Regions from separate parts of the Homo sapiens genome. Here region 1 is linked to region 2. Evidence: promoter capture Hi-C in 16 types of primary human blood cells and fetal thymus (Javierre and others, 2016). All regions are on one chromosome and are shown on one strand. Each heading gives the region's core, a stretch centred on a gene start or on the middle of the fragment in contact. The rest is flanking DNA. Distances are from core to core; before and after follow the strand shown.

Evidence for each region. Contacts are between HindIII fragments. The CHiCAGO score rates a contact against its expected background, and 5 or more counts as called.
Region 1: the fragment with the promoter of PSMA2 here is called in contact with the fragment with the promoter of NUDCD3 in region 2 in 8 of 17 cell types (non-activated CD4 T cells, fetal thymus, total CD8 T cells and 5 more); the score reaches 13.6 in non-activated CD4 T cells.

The regions. Positions count from the first base shown.
Region 1 is chr7:42,930,661-42,937,028 of GRCh38, forward strand. PSMA2 (proteasome 20S subunit alpha 2) reads right to left here and starts at 1,514. Exons shown (of 8, transcript NM_002787.5): 1 at 1,458-1,514. The coding sequence starts at 1,498. MRPL32 (mitochondrial ribosomal protein L32) reads left to right here and starts at 1,716. Exons shown (of 3, transcript NM_031903.3): 1 at 1,716-1,856; 2 at 4,295-4,476. The coding sequence starts at 1,727. RefSeq lists an enhancer at 1,665-1,894. The HindIII fragment of the contact is 5,414 bases long and covers 1-1,814 here.
Region 2 is chr7:44,487,904-44,493,948 of GRCh38, forward strand. It overlaps NUDCD3 (NudC domain containing 3), which reads right to left and starts at 2,755. Exons shown (of 6, transcript NM_015332.4): 1 at 2,506-2,755. The coding sequence starts at 2,697. RefSeq lists silencers at 2,337-2,506, 4,572-4,698. The HindIII fragment of the contact is 1,642 bases long and covers 1,496-3,137 here.

The sequences.
Region 1 (6,368 bases), core at 264-2,763, 1.6 Mb before region 2:
AAGACCACATTTGCAGCCTGGGCAACATCGCAAGACCTCATGCCTTAAAAAAAAAAATTAGCAGGCAGGGTGGTGCACACCTCTAGTCCCAGCTACTCCAGAGACTGAGGCAGGAGGATCCCTTGAGCCCAAGAGCTGGAGGCTGCCAAGTCCCTGTCCCTAAAAAAAGGACCACATTTGTTTTCTTCATAAATAGGAACAGTGAATACATCCTGCACACACTATTCTGTCATATGTAATATAATGAGACCTTTTATTGCATAATTAAATTAATCTCGTTCAAAGGTTACAAAAAAACTATTACATACACCCACTGCTTACTGAAAACTGCCAAGAGAAAAGTACTTTTGGAATTTAAGACAACGTTATGTAATGGAAAGTGTATTTTTGTTATCAGAAAAAAAACCCAGTTTGAATGTCAACTCAGCTACTCACCGATGACCTTAGACAAGTTGTTTAATTTGTACAAGCTGCGGTTAGTTCATCTGTAAGAAGCTGAGATAACATTCATTATAGCAGTGGAAAGAGATGGAGCAGGTTAAGGTTAAGTTGCACCTAACAAAGTACTCAACAAGTTAGATCCCGCCTGCCTTCAGTTGTCAGGAGTACATTTTAAGTAAACTGGGCATTACTGATCCTTAAGAAAATGGGTAAGTCAGAAAACTTCCCCAGTCAATTTTTAAAAGTCTTCGGCGATGGTTTTCTCACGTTGAGAGCCATGGTTCGCCCCAACTGTATTTTGGAAAGTAAACTTATTATTCTAATCCCCTTTTCTACAATAGAAAAACCTACAATCTTGTTTAAAGTAAACATCCCCCTCCCCGACGTTCCCCCCAGTCCACCAAAAAAAGACCAAAACTCAAACTTGCCTCGTTGTTAGGGGTTCACAAAAAAGTGATAGGGGCTTTCGGTTTTTAGTCCTTATGTTTCTAATTCGTGCATCGAAGAAACCGAAAGCGGGAGGTTTTGAAAGACACTAGTGCCAAATGGAGACCAAGACTCCGACTTAACTGTAAAGCTGAGAGTTTTCCAAGAAAAGGGAACCCCACATATTTGACCAAGATTCCAAGTTTCAGAAACCACCGCATCAGGTCTACTTGAGCCAGGAAAAAAATCCTGAGTTCGGAACGGGCCACCCAGAGATGGTTAAGCTAAAACTGCCTTCTTTTCTGGTCTCCAAAGTGAAAGCGAATCCTTGGCTATGTGCCTCACCGTCCCGCAGCCCCATGTTAACCCCGCAAAACCGCATCCCCCCGACCCTCCAGCAGCCTCCGACCAAGGAAGCTCCAGGAATCCCGGGTCGGCCTGGCAAATGACTTTGCAAAGCCGCATTTCCAACTCCATTCCCTACTGGACCCTCCAGAAGCACCAATGCCGACGTCAGGATGGGAAAAACTAAATCGACAGAGTACCAGCAACCTCGACTACGCTGAAGACCTCGAGGGCCCCTTCCATACCTGAATGTAGTCAGCGAAAAGCTGTACCCGCGCTCCGCCATCTTTACCCGAAGAGCCAAAGCACAGCCGCACACATGCGCACTGTGGCCGATTTCCTTTCATTTCCCCGCCCCTCACCTTTCCTTTACTCTCTATGATTGGAGGAGAGTCAGAGCTGCTCCAAGAGCATGCGGGGTGTTGTAGTTCTAAGAAGCGAGGCTTGCCCGATTCTGTGCCTGTGCGCATGCTGAAAGCAGGGGCGGGACCGGGGCGGTCTTCCAGCAGGGAAAATGGCGCTGGCCATGCTGGTCTTGGTGGTTTCGCCGTGGTCTGCGGCCCGGGGAGTGCTTCGAAACTACTGGGAGCGACTGCTACGGAAGCTTCCGCAGAGCCGGCCGGGCTTTCCCAGTCCTCCGTGGGGTAGGTAAAGAAGGGCTCCGTGGGAGAGGGGGCTGATGACGGGACCTCGGGCAGCGTAGCAGACGCAGCTTACACAGTTCGCCCTCAGCCCCGGTTCTGATCCGCGGCCTCATGTCGGGGACGTAGTTCGTGACATTCCCATATTAGCGAGAACAGAACGACTGTTTTTGCGCTCCCTCCACCGCAAAAAAAAAAAAAAAAAAATTCCTCTGCTTGTTCCATTCGTACACAGAATGTAACCCAAGCTTGTGTCAAAGATAAATCATAGCCAGCCAGTAAGTAAAGCGCTGAAAACAGATTTTATTCAGTAACTACTGCAGGTAAAGAGCTGAGCTCCATCCCGGTTTGTGCAGAGGTGACTTTGGGCGTTTTAAAGGGAGAATGAGCGAGGCGGGAGTGTAGGGGCTCTGTAGAGTCAGAGAAGTGTAGTATAGTGAAGTCAGTGCAAATGTGATTAGCCGGCTGTGTCTGCTAGCTCGCAGTTGTCTTAGGGAGAATTCTATCCTCCCGCAGAGACTGGGAGACAAAGGCCCTATCCTTCCTAATGATTAGATTTCGAAGGAATGGCTCTCAGGGCCTTGAAAGAAAAGCTTCCGAGTTAGTTGCAAGGGATACGTATTTACAATTATATGCCCTTTCCAGGAAATGCTCTAAGGGAGTTCGGGACCTACTATCGGGGTATGTTGGCCAAAATAAATAGGAAATTTTCCAGGCAGCGTTGAGCTTTCTCAGGCAGGCACTTTAAAGGGGGGGCCGAGGTCATCCTAGGATACAGCCTTATGCTGCTAGAAACTATGCTAGAGTTTGGTCAAGTCTGTGGAGTTCAGGGATTTGTACAGAGTTGTCCTGAGAGGACAGTTCTGCAGGTCTCACTTGGCATCAAGGCTCACCACTCTCTGGATCTGTCTTTCCTTTCCAGCCCTGCCCTCACCTCCCCTCCCGCTTCCCCTCTCCCCCCTCTCCTCTTCCCTTCCCTTCCCTCCCTTCTTTCCTCCCTTCCTCCCTCCCTCCCGCGCAGTACATGTTTTCTGTGGTGTTTGAGCTCTGAGGAGCTGAATTCTGTTTCCCATGTTTCACTTGGAATTAATTTTAATTGGAAGTATCTTGGATGTTGAAACTGTCATGGCTTTGGCATTTACATTCTACTCAATTTCTAAGCAGCCTGAAAGTGATAATATCCAGAAATATACCAAGAAAATATATGCCACTATATGCCAAGCAATGTGCCAAGCTTTCTACATGTACTTCCTGGGATAATCTTGACAACAGTCCCATTAGGTGTATACACTTTCCAACTGAAACAGTAGGCTCACAATGGTCCCAAGTTCACAGACAGTCCTGAGCCTGTGTTGTTAATCACCGGGGCATGCTTGGCAATACTTGTGGACATACTGAAAATAAATGCCAGTTGTTAAGTGTTAGAGAACTTTGTGTATTTTTAAGAGTTCTTAAGATCAAAAGAAGTATGTGGGCTGGGCGCGGTGGCTCACACCTGTAATCTCAGCACTTTGGGAGGCCAAGGTGGGTCCATCACCTAAGGTCAGGAGTTCAAGACCAGCCTGGCCAACATTGTGAAACCCTGTCTCTACTAAAAATACAAAATTAACCAGGCGTGGTGGTGCACACCTGTAATCCCAGCTACTTGGGAGGCTGAGGCAGGAGAATCACTTGAACCAGGGAGGCGGAGGTTGCAGTGAGCCGAGGTCACGCCACTGCACTCTAGCCTGAGTGACAGAGTGAGACTCAGTCTCAAAAAAAAAAAAAAAAAGTATGGCACGTCTAAGAAATAGCAAGGAAAGGGTAAAGGAATGTTGATTTTATAAGCAATTCAGAAAAAGAGAAACTTTGATAGTCACATAAATAAGGCCATACAGAGAAATGGTGAGCTGGCTCTTTTCTTTAGAGAGCAGACAGGAATCAAGATTAAATGTTATGAGGAACTAAGTGACTTAAGAGGTTGTATCATAAAGGACCTGACTCAGTTTGAATATAAGAAAAGGCAATTGGCAGTTACATCAGTGCCGGTCAGAAGTGTATTCAGGAAATCTGTCTAGATTTACTTGTAAATTAATCAGGTACTTACTACCCGCCAAGTATTAATAGAATGTGGACAGTTGAGTGATTCTTTGCTTGTTTTGTTCAAGTTAGGTGCCTATCAGAGTCCTGTATTTTATGAGATAAGAAACTTGATGGAATTTCACTGATCTTCTTTTCAGCAGGATCCGCTAAGAAAAAATTCTGTGTTCCTTAAAATTGTATAAGCTTTAGTGTATTTTAATAGCTAAGGTTTCTCATTATTGAGTTTCACATTCTAAATTTTATATATAGTTTTTGTGTGTGTGTATGTTTGACCATTGATTGTTAAGGAAAATGATATCTGTAAATAGTAATTTAGAAGCTAGAAACTAATTCTGTATCTCTTATGTTTTATTTCCTAGGACCAGCATTAGCAGTACAGGGCCCAGCCATGTTTACAGAGCCAGCAAATGATACCAGTGGAAGTAAAGAGAATTCCAGCCTTTTGGACAGTATCTTTTGGATGGCAGCTCCCAAAAATAGACGCACCATTGAAGTTAACCGGTGTAGGAGAAGAAATCCGCAGAAGCTTATTAAAGTTAAGGTAATGCATTGATTTTTGTGGGTGTGCTTTTCCTCAAGTCCTCCATTGAATAAGCTCATGGTAGATTCCTATAGCCTAGGAATAAATTATTATCAGATTATATGTGTCTACTTTCCTCTGGCCTAAATGAAATACAGTATTCTCATTATATACATAATGAGAAGGCTAGAGCCTGCTGTCCTCTAGCCTGAGTATTAGAAACACAGTCAAGGAAGGAGTGAGTTTGGAGACTGGGCAAGGAACGAGGCTGTGAGGTGCCTACATGACTTCTGAATTGTGAGCTGTGTCAGTCTTGAGCTGTGTGAGTTTTGAACTACAGATGAGTAAACATCCTAACTATGGCAGAGCCTAGAATTAAAGCTAGAAGCAGTAGGTATACTGAATCTTGGGTTTTACAAGCCCTTACATATTTGTTTTATTTTTTTATCATTTCCAACAAAATACCATGAAGGAAAACCCTAAGATAAGTAATATAATAGCTAACAACAATTAAGTGTCTATGATGTATCTCAGTGCCTTATGTTTATTATATCTCATCATGTCTTATAGCCCTCCAAAGCAAATAAGATATTCTTCATTATTAGGATGAAAAAACTGAGGCAAAAAGAATTTGCCTGTGGTCACACAGCTATGAAGCAGTAGATTTTCGAGCTCTGATTTTTGACCTCATGTTCTTTTAAAGATTTTCTTTGTGTTCTCCTATCCTCAGACAATTTCAGATTCTCCTCGCTGACAACATGGATGTACTGTCTTCATTGATCTAGTAAAGAAAAATTACAGTGTGTATTACCTCTGATCTGTTCATGTATGGTTTTAACAGTTAGGATTTCAGTTACTGTTTACTTCATGGCGTTCCACAACAGCAGCACCATACAGATGAAACTCGAGAACAGAAAGCTGACTTTCATAAGCATCCACATTCTGTTAAGCAAAACCTTAGAACTTAAGCCAGAAAGTATTATTGAGTGATGGTTGGGGCTGAACTTAAATGTAGAACTGAAAAACACTTTATTACTTAAGACTTACAGTAATTCATAAATTTGCTCAAGAGGACGTAAGATTTTAGGAATGAGATCTTGCACTGATCTATTATGTGACTTCCCTGATCGCATTTATTCTGAAGGAATAGTTCTTATCCTGTGCATTTATTTTCTTCCTTGAATTATTTTCTGTTACATACGGTATATAGTGTGTTATGTTGGGTACTTTGATCACGAAAGGAAGACCAGCTGACTGTGGGTGTCTTCATACCTTCAGTTGTGCATGCAATCCAGTTTCCAGTAGTGGAGCAAAATGAGAATATGGTTAGGCAAGTAATATACAAGCCTCTTTCTTCCTTTCAGAAAAGGAAATTCTTTTGTTATCTGCCTCACAAATGTTAGTATATTAATCTTATCAAGTGTTTAAAGCTTCTTTAATGATCCTGTTTAGTATTTTTCTTTGTATTTTCTTTCAAACCTACATCTAGAATAAGTTGATAAATCTTTTAGAGGTTATAATGTTTCTATTTTATATTTAAAGTTGGAGATATATATATATCTATATCTATCTCTATATATATATATATACACACACATATATATATCATTAAAATACCCTAAGAATGTAACATAGAAAATAATTTTACATTAAGGAATAATCAGTGTTCATTTTTAAAAAGAAAAATTATACCATATACGAAACCTGTATTCTGTACAGGAATTTGAATTACACTGTGATAAAAAGAGGAAGCCAAGGAAGTCAACTTGTAATGTTCTTATCTTGTTTTCCCTAAGATAGATTGAAAGACAAAGGGAATTCACTTTTCCTTGGTGTCTTATTTAAGATGCTGATTGTTTGGGTCACTTCATTATGTTGACAAATTCCTTATTTGATATTTAGTATTTGGAGTT
Region 2 (6,045 bases), core at 1,505-4,004:
GATTGCGCCACTGCACTCCAGCCTGGACAACAGAATGAGACTCCATCTCAAAAATAAAAAATAAAAAAATAAAAAAAAGAACAGGTTCCCAGGATTCACCCTGATCTACCCAACCAAAATATCCAGGAATATGTGCTTTTAAAAGTTCCTTGGCCAGGCGCAGTGGCTCACACCTGTAATCCTAGCACTTTAGGAGGCCGAGGCAGGCAGAACACAAGGTCAGGAGTTTGAGACCAGTCTCGCCAACATGATGAAACCCCATCTCTACTAAAAATACAAAAATCAGCCGGGCGTGGTGGCGCACACCTGCAGTCCCAGCTACTCGAGAGGCTGAGGCAGGAGAATTGCTTGAACCCAGGAGGCGGAGGTTGCAGTGAGCTGAGATCATGCCACTGCACTCCAGCCTGGGCGACAGAGTGAGACTCCATCTCCAGGAAAAAAAAAAAAAAAAAAAGAAAGAAAAAAGTTCCTTAAGCGATGCTGATGGTTGAGAACCACTTCCAGAAAACATGACACCTCTCTTAAGCATCTGCTGGAGACTGTTGTCCCCTTGGTTTCTGTGAAACTTATTGCTCTCCACCAAGATTATTCCCCAAGGCCTGTTCTTCACCTTTGGCTCTTCTCTCTCCCTCGGACCACTCCAGTTGCTCTAGCTCCCAAAAGATCTAGTCCAGTAATTCCAATAGCCTATGGGCAGGGACTCCTACCTGCAACTTCAAGTTCAACCTGTCTAAAACTGAACTTTTTCCCCTAAACCCAGGTGACAGTTCAGTTAACGCATTATCACTATTCCAGTCACCCAAGTTGAAACCTTGGATCATCTTTGACCCATCCCTCCCCTTCCTCCATCCCTGCTCCCCATCTCCACTACTTCATTAGACTGGTCACCAAATCCTAACCTATGGAAGTGTCTTGTAAGAGGTGTTACCAGGTAAATGAGTTACCAGGTTAATGAGTGCTCTGTCAGTTCATCTGTGAAACAAAGACCAACCTCTCAGGTTATATTAAGGGTTAAATAAGATAACGACCCCAGAATATAAAACATCTGATACTATACATATTACTCAGTATATACTCCTTTCTCCTCCACATCTTTCTGCAAACTACAATCAATCTAGACAAAAGTGTTCTCATCCTACTATGGAATGGTTAAACAACAGAACAGGAAGATTTGGAATCCACAAAATGAAATTTTTAGTTTCAGCTCTACGGTGAACTGGCTGTGTGTTCTTGGTCAAATCACTTAACCTTGCTGAATTGGTACGTAAACTTGAAACTTATCTGTTTCACAGAGACACTGAAGATCAAATGGCAAGACTTCATTAACCTGCCATAAGATCCTGCTAAAGGCCACCTCCAACAGCTCTCTCATCACTAAGATGGCACTTATGCCACTGACAAGGACGAGGAATAGCCTTAAGTTCTGAAATTGAATCCTAATGGAACCCCATTCCTCGTTTGGCCCTATTACCCTGGTAGCTACCAAGACATTCAAAGCTTTGGCTTCTGCTGAGGAAAGTAACATCTTACCAACCTGCAGCATGCATTAAGACTTCAGGAGGAAACATCTGAAGCATTTTATAAACTGTAACATCTAGAGAACTGAGGGAGGTATCATCAGCATTTCTATCTTCTTGGGTTTCTACAAATAGGCTTAATACTTGGCTGAATAGTTTCTTTTAATCTCATCAGAAGTCCCACCTCTCTTATAAAAACTTCACTTCTCAACCATCATTTCTATTTCCTTTCTTTACAATGGGCTCCATCAAATAATTGCCCTTAAAAAGTTTTCTATTACTTTCTGGGTTTTCTCTCTTTAACTGTGTCACAAGGAGAGAGAAACCATTACTTAAACACCCGTATCACCCTCACCTGCGGCAACTAAGAGTGTAAACTACATTCAGCAAAAGGTTGCTTACCACTACATTCAAAAGTGCCCAGTCAACTTCACTGAATGAGTATTGACAGCGTTTCCAACATACAATAAACTTAACCTGGAGGGTACGGAATTAAGCTCAAATAGAAATTTTAATAAGCACTACATTGACAGTCTTTGACCTGGGAAGTCACATTTCAAACAAGCGACCACACCCATTGATCAACACAATGCCTCCGTCATCCCCGCCAGCTCAAGTCTTTGGTAGTTCTGGGGCATGCACGTTTCTGTTGCTGTAAATGTCCTTCCTTCTGTCTGGCCTGCATGGATTTCGCTCCCTGACTAGCGGCCCCCAGCACCGTGAGGGGTACGCGCTGGCGGGTGCTGAGTAGGGCTCTTAACAGTCGGCTTACTACTTCTGAAACCTCAGGACGTCCGGAGCGAACACCTCAGCGGAATAAGCTGACATCCAATCCGCGCTTCAAATTACTGAAGCCATTCTCACAAGCTCAACCCCAGGACACCAGGAAAAGGAGGAAACAGGCTGGGAGAGCTTGGAGGAGCGGGCGCCAGGAGTCAGGGCAGGCCGGGGGCGGCGGCTCCCCAGACCGCAGGCCCGCCCGCCTCACCTGCAGCACCAAGGCCTGCGCGGCCCCGGGCGGGAAGCCCATGCGGTCCGATGGGTGGCGCAGCAAGCGATAGAAGTCTGTCTTGCGGTAGAGGAAGCCAAAGAGAACGCGCAGGAAATCCTGGACGTTGCCCACGTGCTGCAGGATGCCCAAAAGGGCCTGGTCATACAGCTCGGCCGCCCCTGTCTCCATGTCGCCTCCCGCCCTAGGTACGCTTCACACACACAGCGCCGCCTCAGACCTGCCGACTGGCCACTTCCGGCGTCCGCAGCCAACGGCTCCGCCGGACGGCGCGGCTGCGGAACTTCCGGTCCGTGCTCGTTCGGCCCCCGCGGCCCCGGGCTGTTTTCCCCAGACCCAGCTGCCCCACGGGCTTTGCCTTGAGGTGGTCTTAGACAAAAGAGCCCGACAAGGGCAGCAAGGAGGTTCCTACGCGGAAGGAAGCCCGTGGCTTCTGCTGCGCTGCGAGGGCTTGACCGCCATGTTTGAAGCGGGCGGAAAAAAATTATGGGGCGTGCAGTGTCACGTGACTGCTCGGATTTTTGTCACGTTGTCTGTGGATCCTTTCTTATTTCTGTGTTGAATTCCAGCCTGGGTATTTGGAACCTATGGTTAAAGATGGGGCTAGGGTAAGCTTTTTGTTAGTGAGCCAGAGACGGGAAAATGCGTATATGTGGGATGTATGGGTTTCTTATTAACAGATCTGTGAGTTAAACTCAGGGCGTTGCATCAGAAGAAAGTCAAGATGACGAAGAAAATAAAGAGTGCATTCAACGTATATTAAGTGGAAAGAGCTAGATTCAGAATAGAGAATCCGTATGCCATCGTTGTGAAATATGTACGTGTATGTGTGTGTATAGTATGTATATACATATATACGTCATATATACATATGTTGTTAGTGTCTGTCAAAGTATAATCTTAAAAAAGTAAAAAGCATGACACTCATACAAATATATCATGAACACATATCCAAGATTTCTTCAGCAAATTAACAATGATATGGTAAAGCTGGTTCAAAAGCATTTTGAGGAAGTGGAGATTAAACATTTTGACAAAGCATTAGAGTAAGATTAGGTTGGATACAAAGCTGGCTGGTGTTCTACAAGATGATAAAACCATAGATTATCATTTCTAGTGTATAGAAATGATTTGCACCTCTTCTAGATTAAAACATGCAAGTTAACATGTCTTCATAGTGTATAAGCTTTAATGAATTGTAAATAAAATCCAACTCAGGTAAATTGCCCTAGAACAGTGGTTCTGAAACTCTTGATTTAGGGACCATTAATCCTCTTAAAATTTGTTGAACATTCCAAAGAACATTTGTTGATATGGGTTATGCTTATCAATATTTACCACATTAGAAATTAAAACATAAAATGTTTAAATATTTATTTAATCATTTTTAAATGACCATAAAACACATTACATGTTAACATACTTTTATGCAAAAAATAATGTTCTTCAAAGCAATAAAAGTTCAGTGAGAGGAGTAACATAGTTTTACATTTTTGCAAATCTCTTTAATGAGCCTACTAGAAGACAGCAAGATTTGGCCGGCACAGTAGCTCATGCTTGTAATCCCAGCACTTTGGGAGGCCGAGGCGGGAGGATCAGGAGTTCGAGACCAGCCTGGCCAACACAGTGAAACCCTGTCTCTACTAAAAATACGAAAATTAGCTAGGCGTGATGGCAGGTGCCTGTAATCCCAGCTCCTCTGGAGGCTGAGGCAGGAGAATCGCTTGAACCCGGGAGGCAGAGGTTGCAGTGAGCCGAGATCACACCACTGCATTCCAGCCTGGGCGACAGAGCTAGACTCCGTCTCCACAAAAAAAAAGAAGACCACAAGATTCTCACATCTGCATTCACTGCAACATAATTTGCATTATGTTGTTTTCATTGAAGTATATGAAAACATGCAACCTCACACAGACAGTTGCAAATGAGAGGAATATTTTGTCTTTTCAAATAAATGTGGCTATTTGTCTTTAAAATGACATCAAAATTCTTCTACAAGCGATAGTTTCTATTTTTTTTATTTTTAAGAGGCAGGGTCTCCCTCTGTCACCCAGGCTGGAATGTAACGATGTGATCATAACTAACTGTAGCCTTGAACTCTTGAACTCAAGCAATCCTCCTGCCTCAGCCTTCTGAGTAGCTGGAACTACAAGCACATGCCACTGTGCCTGGCTAATTTTTAAATTATTTTTATAGAGACGAGGTTGGGCCTACATTGTTCAGGCTGGTCTGAAACTCATGGGCTCAAGCGATCCTCCCCTCTCAGCCTCCCAAAGTGCTGGAATTATAGGTGTGAGCCACTGCACCCAGCCCTGTAACTGGTAGTTTCTTAAAGGTTACTTGCCATATGGAATCTAAAACTGTATCTATAGACTTTTCATACTCTGTTACATTAATATCGATTGGTCTTTCACTTTGAATGGATCGTTAATAAATGCATGATTTTATACCATCATGTATTAATTAGTCATTTGAAAATGTTGGTCCACTGTGTTATGCAGCTCTTCCAAATGTTCACTCGTTTTATGCAACGAGCATATCTTGCCCCCAGATCTTGGTTTCTAATATCATTTCATTATATAATATCAAAAAATAACATTTGTTAGAATTACCACTAAACTCATCAGAGAAGTCTGTCTTTATTGACAAGCACTCAAGCTCATGGAAGCGGGATATGGGTTTTTTGAATTCTAATTTTAGCTTAAAAACTTGAACTTTATTATTGGAAGTAGATACAATCAATTATTTTCCTTGAAGAGACAGGCTCACTTCATTCTGTCATTCAAGTAAAAATGATGCTCTGTGACTTGTTCAATTGGCAACTCAATCACACAAGTGCTTTGCATCAGTGCAACCATTTTGCTTCAGTATGAGGCAGACATGTCTTATGTGTACTTCTCTTTTAATCATGCACTATTAAAAAGACTTGTTCTCAAGTGGAGAACTTTTAATAAAACAACTTTTAATAAAATTAATAATTAAATGCTATCAGGAGCATTCTTAAGTGAAACTGAACATTTTTAACCTGTAAGTGTAAGGCAGTGCATACTAGTCGAGTTTGGTGCCGTTATGGACTGAATGTGCCTGCCCCCCACCAGATTCATATGTTGAAGCCCCAGTCCTCAATGGGACTATATTTGGAGTCACATTGGTGGTTAGAAGGGCCTTTAAAAGATACTTAAAGGTTAAATGAGGTTATAAGGGTGGGACCTTAACCCAATGGAACTGGTATCCTCATAAGAGGAGAAGGAGACACTAGAGATCTCACTCTGCACACATGCAGAAGAAAGGCCATGTGAGGACACAGTGAGATTGCTTCAAGCTAGGAAGAGAATTCTCACCAGATACCAACACCTTGGTCTTGGATTTCTGGCCTCCAAGACTGTGAGAGAATAAACATGTGTTGTTTAAGCCACCCAGTCTATGGTACTTTGTGACAGCAGGAAGCTAGGACAATGGCCTGCCTTGATTCCTGCTGAGACACTTGCAGTTTTACCTGCCATTGCTTTTGCACCATCA